Regions from separate parts of the Homo sapiens genome. Here region 1 is linked to region 2. Evidence: promoter capture Hi-C in 16 types of primary human blood cells and fetal thymus (Javierre and others, 2016). All regions are on one chromosome and are shown on one strand. Each heading gives the region's core, a stretch centred on a gene start or on the middle of the fragment in contact. The rest is flanking DNA. Distances are from core to core; before and after follow the strand shown.

Region 1 (3,082 bases), core at 177-2,676, 440 kb before region 2:
ACAGAGCCCCTCCTGGGTTCCGGGCTTATCACCTGCCTCCTTCCATTTTCCTCACCACCGTCTGCCCAGGCAGGGCTTATGGGTGTCGGGGAGGTGTTGAGGGTGTCTTTGCTCTAGATGCGGTCCAGAGAGACTATGGGGTTTGCTCATGGTTACCCAGCTCATCGATGCTAGACAAGGACAAGAGCCTGGGTCTGCAGAGTGCAGGGATAAAGCCTTGAGTCCCAGCCCTGAGGGGAGGGAGGCAATTGCCAGGGCTGGCCAGCTCCTGACAGGATTGCCCCCCGCAGGTGGTACTGGCCATGCCCTACGATACGCCCGTGCCTGGCTATCGCAACAATGTTGTCAACACCATGCGCCTCTGGTCTGCCAAGGCTCCCAATGACTTCAACCTCAAGGACTGTGAGTTCATCCACTGGTAGCCAGCAACCCCAGCTTGCCCGCCGGCCACGCCCAGCGCAGGCCTTACCCTGTCCCCACTTTTGTCCCTCAGTCAATGTCGGTGGCTACATCCAGGCTGTGTTGGACCGAAACCTGGCGGAGAACATCTCTCGTGTCCTGTACCCCAATGATAATGTGCGTCACCCCCTGGGCTGGGGGCTGGAAGCCTGAGTCCTTGGCAGCAGGGGTCAGGGAGAGCTGGGGAAGGACACTTGCTGGTGCCCTAGTCACACCCAGGGCATATTGCTGGCCTTGTGCATCCTGTGCCCCCACCTCAAGTCTTTTGAGTGCAAGGACACCTGAGTCCTGAGGAAACTGGGTTAGCGAAGGGCACTTTGGAGGGGCTGTTCCCTGGCGACACCCACAACACACTCGGTTCTTGTACCCCTCTTCCTGACACTGTCTCTCGCCACTAGTTCTTGGTGGAGGAAAGGCCCCTGGGTCCCAGAGAGGGGGCCGGCTCAGGGCTCAGGGGTCCCGGTATGGGTGGGAGTCCCTCCTGGCCACACCCACCGCAGCTTTAGGCCATGCCCCCACCGCCCTGACTCACGCTGCCTCATGCTGTCCCCAGTTCTTCGAAGGGAAGGAGCTGCGGCTGAAGCAGGAGTATTTCGTGGTGGCTGCCACCCTCCAGGACATCATCCGTCGCTTCAAGTCTTCCAAGTTCGGCTGCCGTGATCCCGTGCGCACGAACTTCGATGCCTTCCCAGATAAGGTACCATGCGTGTGGAGGGCGACTCTGTGACCGGACAGTGTGTGCTAGGCCTCTCCCTCCAGCCTCGGCCTGCCTGCCCCATGTAATAGATAAGGGAGTGGAGACTGGGAGTGTGGGAGGGTCAGTTGTTCAGGATTCACAATCCACAGGCTCAGAACCTGGGCTTCCCTCCTCCTCCCGCCCCACTCCCCCCATTCCTCCCACCCCCATGAGCACCGGCCTGCCTCTGCCCACAGCCCAGTCACAGAACCGTGCTGGGCTCTCTGGGGGCCTCCAAATGGCATAGGGCAGTGACCATAGCATGGAATGTGGTTTGGAGCCCAGACTGACCCCTCCCCCTACCCCAGGTGGCCATCCAGCTCAATGACACCCACCCCTCCCTGGCCATCCCCGAGCTGATGAGGATCCTGGTGGACCTGGAACGGATGGACTGGGACAAGGTGGGCTTCAGGGCCCCTCTGCCCCATCTGATGCTCTCTGCCTCGGGGTTCCCTTCCCAGTTTGGGAGCGTGGGAGGATATGAATGGAGTGAAGGGATCAGAGCCTGAGGCCAGAGGGACCGTCCTGGAACCTGGCACTGCAGTGGGGGGGCCCACTGGGATGCGTAGTGTGTGAGGAGACCCACTGGGCTGAGGTCAGCATCCTGACTGCCCACCCCGTGTGCCAGGCGTGGGATGTGACAGTGAGGACCTGTGCCTACACCAACCACACGGTGCTGCCCGAGGCCCTGGAGCGCTGGCCGGTGCACCTCTTGGAGACGCTGCTGCCGCGGCACCTCCAGATCATCTACGAGATCAACCAGCGCTTCCTCAACGTGAGTCCGGAGGCTTGGGGGATGGTGTGGGGGTGAGGGGGGACACCCAGTCTGGGCCTGGGAGTCGGGGCGTCCAGCCAGGGCCCTGAGACTCTGGGGCAGTGGGGGCACTGGGCAGAGCTCTGGGGGTGTGGGGCTGGGGACTGGGGATGGGGGTTCCTGGGTCTGGTTCTAGCTCTGGGCTCTCTGGGCACAGCGGGTGGCGGCCGCATTCCCAGGGGACGTAGACCGGCTGCGGCGCATGTCGCTGGTGGAGGAGGGCGCAGTGAAGCGCATCAACATGGCACACCTGTGCATCGCGGGGTCGCACGCCGTCAACGGCGTGGCGCGCATCCACTCCGAGATCCTCAAGAAGACCATGTGAGCCCCGCTTTCCAGATCCCGCCCCTCTCTAGGCCCCACCCACTCCACGCCTCTGTCACACAGAAGCCCCGCCCTTCACCGACCACTCTCTGGTCTCTGGGCCCTGGCGCCTTTCACAGGTGGCGTCATTCTTACAAGCACAGCAGCCCCTTCCAGTGCCGCCCTGTCCTGAGATGACCTCCTCTTACACACAGCACCCCCAACCTTCCCCAGGTCTGCATTCCCTGCCCCAGGCCCCTTTCAGCAAGACACCAGGGTAGGGGCCCCAGGGCAGAGGCCTTCATTGTACAGGGGTGAGTGGTGACCCTCGTCCAACCTCATCCTGCAGCTTCAAAGACTTCTATGAGCTGGAGCCTCATAAGTTCCAGAATAAGACCAACGGCATCACCCCTCGGCGCTGGCTGGTTCTGTGTAACCCCGGGCTGGCAGAGGTCATTGCTGAGGTGAGAGGCCACCGTAGGGCCAGTAGAGTCAACATGGGTCCCTGCAGGGATCAGCTGGGTATGGTCGTGTAGGTGGTTCACTGCATCAGGGCTCCCAGCTGAAGGCTGAAATCCCTCCTGCACTGTGTTCCCCAAGCCTCGCATCCACCTGGAGGAGGGACACCATCTTAATTGCATGAGGGTGCTCTGTGTGCTAATGGAGGCCCTGGCTGTGGAGGTGAACACAGCAGAGGGAGTCATCCATGGGTCACATCTGAAGTGAGCCTGGAAGGGGGCAGATATCTGGTAGGGAAGGCGCAAGGTCAT
Region 2 (6,311 bases), core at 1,451-3,950:
CACCCAGGCTGGACTGCAGAGGCACGATCTCCACTCACTGCAACCTACGCCTCCTGGGTTCAAGCAATTCTCTGCCTCAGCCTCCCCAGTACCTGGGATTACAGGCGCCCGCCACCATGTCCGGCTGATTTTTTTGCATTTTTAGTAGAGACAGGGTTTCACCATCTTGGCCAGACTGGTTTTGAACTCCTGACCTCGTGATCCACCCGCCTTGGCCTCCCAAAGTGCTGGGATTACAGGCGTGAGCCACCGCGCCCAGCTCTACCCAGCTCTACTTGTTTTGTGATGGCACTGAAATGCTTTTTAGGAGTCCTATCAGGACTATGTGGAGGACTTAAGAGCAACACAAAAGATCCCAGGTCCTGATCTTCAGAAGGGGAAGGGCCTCACCTTGGAACATCCAGGGGTGAAGGCCCCAGGAACTCCAAACAGCACACCCTTCTTGCCCTTGAACAGCTCTGCCAGGTTCACCTTGTTCCCTGGCTCCCCTTCAAACACCTCCACTGCTGGGATGGCATCTCCCACCTAGAAGGAAGGACTCCAGGGTAAGGGGGGTGAGGGAGCCGGGGCAAACCAGAGGCAGGAAGGTGAACAGAGAGCCTGGCAGCTGTGCCTGCAGGAACCGGGGCTGAAACCCAGCAGGATACTCCAGCCCTGTCAGTTTCCAAGGGCCCTCCCTGCCCGCTCCCACTGGGTTACCCCATATCCTCCAAGTTTCAAGGTGGCCCTGCTCCTCTTAAGGGGCCATTGGTGACAACAGAGAAAGGGAGGGAAGGTTTCCCCATGTGTCGCAAAGGGTTGCATAACATGCTGTCTAGGTTACAGGAAAGGAGTGGAATAAAATGGACAGGGGCTAGAGGGCTGTATTTGGGGGTGAGGAGGAGTCCCTGACAACATGGAGGGAGAGGATCTTGGCCAGGTCTGAGGGTCCCACCCTCAGGAGGAGGAAGAGGAAGGGCAGCGGCAGGTGGAACGTTGGGGGAGGGTGTCCAGGCCCCTACACCCAGGAGGTGTAGAACAAAAGAAGGAATCTTTTGAAGGGGGAAGGATCCATCCCCAGAGTACTTGAGGGCTTCATGGGACCAGAGTGGGTAGGGAGAGAGAGTCAGAGGTGAGGGCCTCTGAGGAGCCCAAAGGTTGAGAGCAGGATGAAGTAGAAAGGGAATGGGGTCTCACAAGGTTTGGGAGGAGAAGGGGGAAGGTCCAAGGCCCTGGGGACGGTTCCAGGAAGTGAGTGAAAGACAGAAAGGTGGGAATTCGCCATGGGGGGAGGGGAGGTCATGGAGTGGGATGGGGTAAGCCCCCGCGGGGGCGCTAAGGGACAGCTGTTTCAGAAGATAGGGGAAATCAGGCCGGGAGTGGTGTCTCACACCTGTAATCCTAGCACTTCGGGAAGCCGAGGCGGGGGGGGGCGGGGGGGGTTCACCTGAGGTCAGGAGTTCGAGACCAATCTGAACAACGGGGTGAAATCCCGTCTCTACTAAAAATACAATAGCTGGGCGTGGTGGCTCGCATCTGTAGTCCCAGCTACTCAGGAGGCTGAGGCAGTAGAATCGCTTGAACCCGGGAGGCGGAGGCTGCAGTGAGCAGAGATTGCGTCACTGCACTCCAGCCTGGGCGACACAGAAAGACTCCGTCTCAAAAAAAAACAAAAAACAAAAAACACAATGCCTCGGGACTGTCCCGGGAGGTGAGGCCCCCACGATTGGCGAGAAAGGTGGGCAGCCACGAGGGCCTTCTGAAGGGATGAGCCGGGCGGGCGGAGGGGAGGGGTCTGGCAGGCAGGAAATAAAGCGATACTCTCAGACTAGCGGGACGGGGATTGCCATGGGGGTAGTGGGGGATGTCAGGCCCGGCCGGGCCAGCGGTCACCTTGATTGGGGCCATGGCTGCAGCGGCTCTGCTGAAACTGCGGACCCCGCCAGACGCCCACTCTCCTTCACTGTACCGTCTTGCTGCCGCTGCCGCAGACTGACCGCCGGCCCCACCGACGAGTATATAGCCCGCTGAGCGTCTCAGGGCGCACACGCCAGCTAGTCCCATACCCGCCCCACGGCCACTTCCACTCCGCCTCCTGGCTGGTGCCACCGCAGCAGGCGGGGCACCGCTAGCGGCACAGCGGCGACACCCTGCGGAAGGCGGGCCTGGGCCGCCTCCACTGCGCAGGCGCGAGCGGCCACCCGCAGAACAGAGCTTCCGGGACCCACGCCTCGTTTGCACTGGGTGCTGGACAGCCGACGCAACTACAAATGGGGCGGAGCTTTCGGCACTGGAGCAGCTAATTTGCATATAGGAATGAGGTGCGGCTCGGCTTCCATGGGCCTAATTTACAGATAGGGCGGTATTTCTGCCCCTTAACCGAAAGTGGGATACAGAGGACGACGGTGTTAGGCGCCTGTGTAGGAGTAAAATGTGTTTATTTTGCATTCAACGAGAGCTCCTGCATTGCAGCTATTTTGCATATGATTTGCATCTTACGAAGAATTTGTGGCAAAAAAAAGCTGGGCGTGCGCCGTAGGAACCTCCTGCTGAGACGCTTCCGGTAGCGGCGCGTGACCCGACAGGTCTTTCACCTACCTACCTCAGCTCCCACAAACACGAGAAGTTCCAGCAAGTTCGCCACTTCCGGTTCTCCTGGCTATCCAATAGCATCGAGAGGAGCATCCCCGGAAGTGAGGCAGCGGAGGACGACCTTTTTCCGGTTCCGGCCTGGCGAGAGTTTGTGCGGCGACATGAAACTGCTTACCCACAATCTGCTGAGCTCGCATGTGCGGGGGGTGGGGTCCCGTGGCTTCCCCCTGCGCCTCCAGGTACCCGCCGGCGGCAGTCTTCCCTTTTCGGGCGGGATGGTGGGCCGGGGTCCAGTGCTTGCCTAAACTCCTCCGCCCTGCAGGCCACCGAGGTCCGTATCTGCCCTGTGGAATTCAACCCCAACTTCGTGGCGCGTATGATACCTAAAGTGGAGTGGTCGGCGTTCCTGGAGGCGGCCGATAACGTGAGGATCCTTACCCCGCCCCAGCATATCCCGGGGAATGCGGGGCGGGCACACCTCAGCCGGGCTGAGGCGGGAGTTCGGGATGCCCGGAGATAATTTTGGCCTCTTGCCCACAGTTGCGTCTGATCCAGGTGCCGAAAGGGCCGGTTGAGGGATATGAGGAGAATGAGGAGTTTCTGAGGACCATGCACCACCTGCTGCTGGAGGTGAGAAGCGGCCCATCACTTGCTTCCCGGGCCACCTGCCTCCCGCACTGAGGCTGCCAGTGCTCAGCTCTGTCCCTCCCTGCCCGCAGGTGGAAGTGATAGAGGGCACCCTGCAGTGCCCGGAATCTGGACGTATGTTCCCCATCAGCCGCGGGATCCCCAACATGCTGCTGAGTGAAGAGGAAACTGAGAGTTGATTGTGCCAGGCGCCAGTTTTTCTTGTTATGACTGTGTATTTTTGTTGATCTATACCCTGTTTCCGAATTCTGCCGTGTGTATCCCCAACCCTTGACCCAATGACACCAAACACAGTGTTTTTGAGCTCGGTATTATATATTTTTTTCTCATTAAAGGTTTAAAACCAAAAGCGGTTTCTCTTTGCAGCAAATATACATTAAAATAGAGTCTCTGTACAGCCAAGGGCTCTGGGCCCTGGCTTGCCCCATGTCCCTGCGCCTCCCTGGCCAAACCCAAAAATAAATATAGTGTTATTGCTCTGCAGGGCATAGAGGCAGTGCTCTCCTACCCCCTGAGGAGGCTCGTTGGGAGCTGATGGGGAAGCCCTGGCCACCCCAGGGGTCCAGGGGCTGGAGTCTGCTTGGAGTTATTGCTTCAAGGGGGGACACTAATGCCCAATGCAAATGATGAGAGGAGGAGCGAAGGGGGCATGGGCCTTTGCTCTCCAAGTCCCACTCTGCTTTGAAGAGGGGGTAGGATTAAGCAGCAGCAAAAGCATCACCCACTGGGAGACTCTGGCCTCCATCCCCTTCCCTCCCTGAGATAGGTTTCTGCCTCCCACGCATCCCGTGCAGCCCCCTATGGCTTCCGCAAGGCCCCCTACACTCTGGGGGCACGTTATGGCTTGCAAGGGGCAGCACTGTGCCCAGAGCCTGGACACACGTTCCCAGCTTCTGACACCCCCTAGGAGGGGGAGGAGAGGGCGTGGGGCCTGTTCCCAGGGGCTGATGGCATTGCCCTGGCCCTGCCAGCAGGCTGTGGCACTGCCCAGACCCCAGCTCCGCCCCAGCCCTTGGGGCTGACCCCATGCTAGGCAGGTCCTGCCAGAACCCCCACCAGTCCCACCCCTTGCCTCAGTCCATCATGGCCTCGAGCATCTCCAAGAACAGCTTGTGCATGGGCACCTTGCCCTCCAGCTTCACCCCATAGAAATGGGCCAGCACTTTGCCCGCTGTCTGGCGGAGGAGCGGTAGCGTGAGCAGCAGCCTGCCCGCCCGCCGCCGCTCAGCACCCCCTCCGGGGCCAGCCCGGCCGGCTTCATACTCCAGCAGGGCCTCGTGCAGAGCTTCTCGCAGCTGCTCCACAGCCTCGGCATCTTCGATGTGCACAGAGTCTGCAAGAAGAGAGGAATGTGGTGTTGGCCTGGGCTATCTCTGGCAAGGGCACTCCCCGTATCTTGAGCACTGCTGGATGGGGCCTAAGGAAGAGCCAAACGAGGATTTGTTGATTGGCTGACTGAGAGGCACCACTCATTGCTGCGGCTCGTGGGCCAGGACCCCACCCTCTCTCCCTCAACTGTGGCCACCTTGTACCCTCCCCACCTTCCCTCCCACTAAATGACCTTTCTGCATTAGTGTGGCACTAGGGCTCAAAATCCTGTGTGCAGTTTGGAGCCTGCACTTGGCTTGCTTTTTGACTTCTAGCAAGTCATTGTTCTTCCCTAAGCCTCAGTTTTCGTTATCTGCAAAATGGGGCTGTGCTACCGTCACTGAGTTAACCTGAAGACCTTACGGAGACACCTCACCTGTCAGTGCCTGCCCCAGACTCACCTGAATTGGCAAGGGCCAAGGCCTTTAGTAGAACATACTCCTCTCGCTCCAGCCGCAGGGCCTGCAGCCGCCGCACTAGTTGCAGCAGGGCAGCCCCCAGTTCCCCCAGGCCAGCTGCCCGTGCCCCCTCTTCATCCAGGACTAAGTCCTCAGCGAAGGCCAGCTCATCCTGCAGTGGCAGTGAGCGCTGGGCCACACCCAGCACCAGCACCTCCATCCACACGCTCTGCAGTACTGACATCTGGTCAGACAGCGACAGCGATGAGAAGCCTAGGGGGCAGCGGGGAGCGGGCCTGGCTGAGCAAGCGCACCAGAGCCGGGCCCGTTCAGGGCAGCCCCGGGTCACCTGGGCCCTTTACCTGGGATGCTCTTGGCCCAGCTGATGGTGACCACAATCTCTCGGTCAAAGAGGTCACAGAGGGTAGCCACGGCTGGGAGGTGCCCATCAGGGCCTGCGGGGTCAGGCATGGCATAGAGCTTCTCAGGCTCAACCACCAGCAGATGAGACACCAGTGCATTCACTGGGGCTGCTGTGACAATTAGAGGACAAGAGTCAGGAGCACTCGAATCTGTCAGGCCTCAGGGGTCAAGCATCTTCCCACAGTGGCTCCCCCTGTGGCCTTCCTCAGTAGCAGCTGTCCAGTGACTTCCCTCCAGGGAAGAGCGCTAACTGTCTCCCAGGGAAAGCCCGTGTGTTTGTGGACAGGCTGTGAGTGTTGGAAAATCGTCCCTGTTCCCAGTTCTACTACTTTTCCTGATGCAGGAAAAGGCAGTTTCACATGTCTTGGGGAAATGAGTGAGTGAAGAGACGAAGGGGAAATACAGGTCCCAGTGCCCAAGGTAACTATGATGCCACACATAGGCCTCCGGTTTCGTAGCCCCAGGTACCCACAGTGCTCTCACCTGTCTTCCGGGGGCCTCCAGCGACTGCCAGGGGCCCAGCAGGGAAGGGGCCCGGGAAGGGCAGTGGGTCCACCTCCGGCCGCCGCTTGTACTTCTGCCGCCCACCCCGGACGCGGTCCAGGCGCACTCCTTGAATTGTGGGACAGATAGGACTGTGACTGTGGTGCTGTGGGCAGGGTGGGGCTTGCTCTCCAGAGCTGTCCTCCCCGAGTCCACTCACCAGAACTCCCAGGCCTCACCCCCACCTGGCCCGGGTCCCCGACTCCCCCAGCCCTCGCCCAGCCCCTGCCCAGCGCTCACCCTCCTTGAGCATGCCCACCCGCAGGCACTTGGTGAAGCGGCAGGCCTGGCAGGCCTTGCGTCTCCGCTTGGTGATCTCACACTCGTTGGAGGCCGGACAGCTGTACTCGATGCTCCCTG

Evidence for each region. Contacts are between HindIII fragments. The CHiCAGO score rates a contact against its expected background, and 5 or more counts as called.
Region 1: a contact is called between a fragment that was not itself captured here and the fragment with the promoter of TRMT112 in region 2, in 1 of 17 cell types (monocytes). The highest score is 5.6, in monocytes.

Annotation. Positions count from the first base shown.
Region 1 is chr11:64,752,767-64,755,848 of GRCh38, reverse strand. It overlaps PYGM (glycogen phosphorylase, muscle associated), which reads left to right. Exons shown (of 20, transcript NM_005609.4): 6 at 291-402; 7 at 494-576; 8 at 1,013-1,156; 9 at 1,504-1,596; 10 at 1,824-1,970; 11 at 2,167-2,330; 12 at 2,662-2,776. Among named protein-coding and RNA genes, the nearest start is that of PYGM, 5.7 kb to the left of the region's middle. RefSeq lists an enhancer at 1,747-2,357. The HindIII fragment of the contact is 3,981 bases long and covers 1-3,082 here.
Region 2 is chr11:64,313,948-64,320,258 of GRCh38, reverse strand. It overlaps TRMT112 (tRNA methyltransferase activator subunit 11-2), which reads left to right and starts at 2,700. Exons shown (of 4, transcript NM_016404.3): 1 at 2,700-2,810; 2 at 2,894-2,995; 3 at 3,112-3,201; 4 at 3,291-3,799. The coding sequence starts at 2,733. The coding sequence ends at 3,398. ESRRA (estrogen related receptor alpha) reads right to left here. Exons shown (of 7, transcript NM_004451.5): 3 at 6,192-6,308; 4 at 5,892-6,020; 5 at 5,348-5,518; 6 at 4,989-5,258; 7 at 3,516-4,552. The coding sequence ends at 4,293. PRDX5 (peroxiredoxin 5) reads right to left here and starts at 2,138. Exons shown (of 6, transcript NM_012094.5): 1 at 1,873-2,138; 2 at 391-525. The coding sequence starts at 2,043. RefSeq lists a silencer at 2,074-2,233 and enhancers at 2,324-2,523, 3,681-4,196. The HindIII fragment of the contact is 12,949 bases long and covers 1-6,311 here.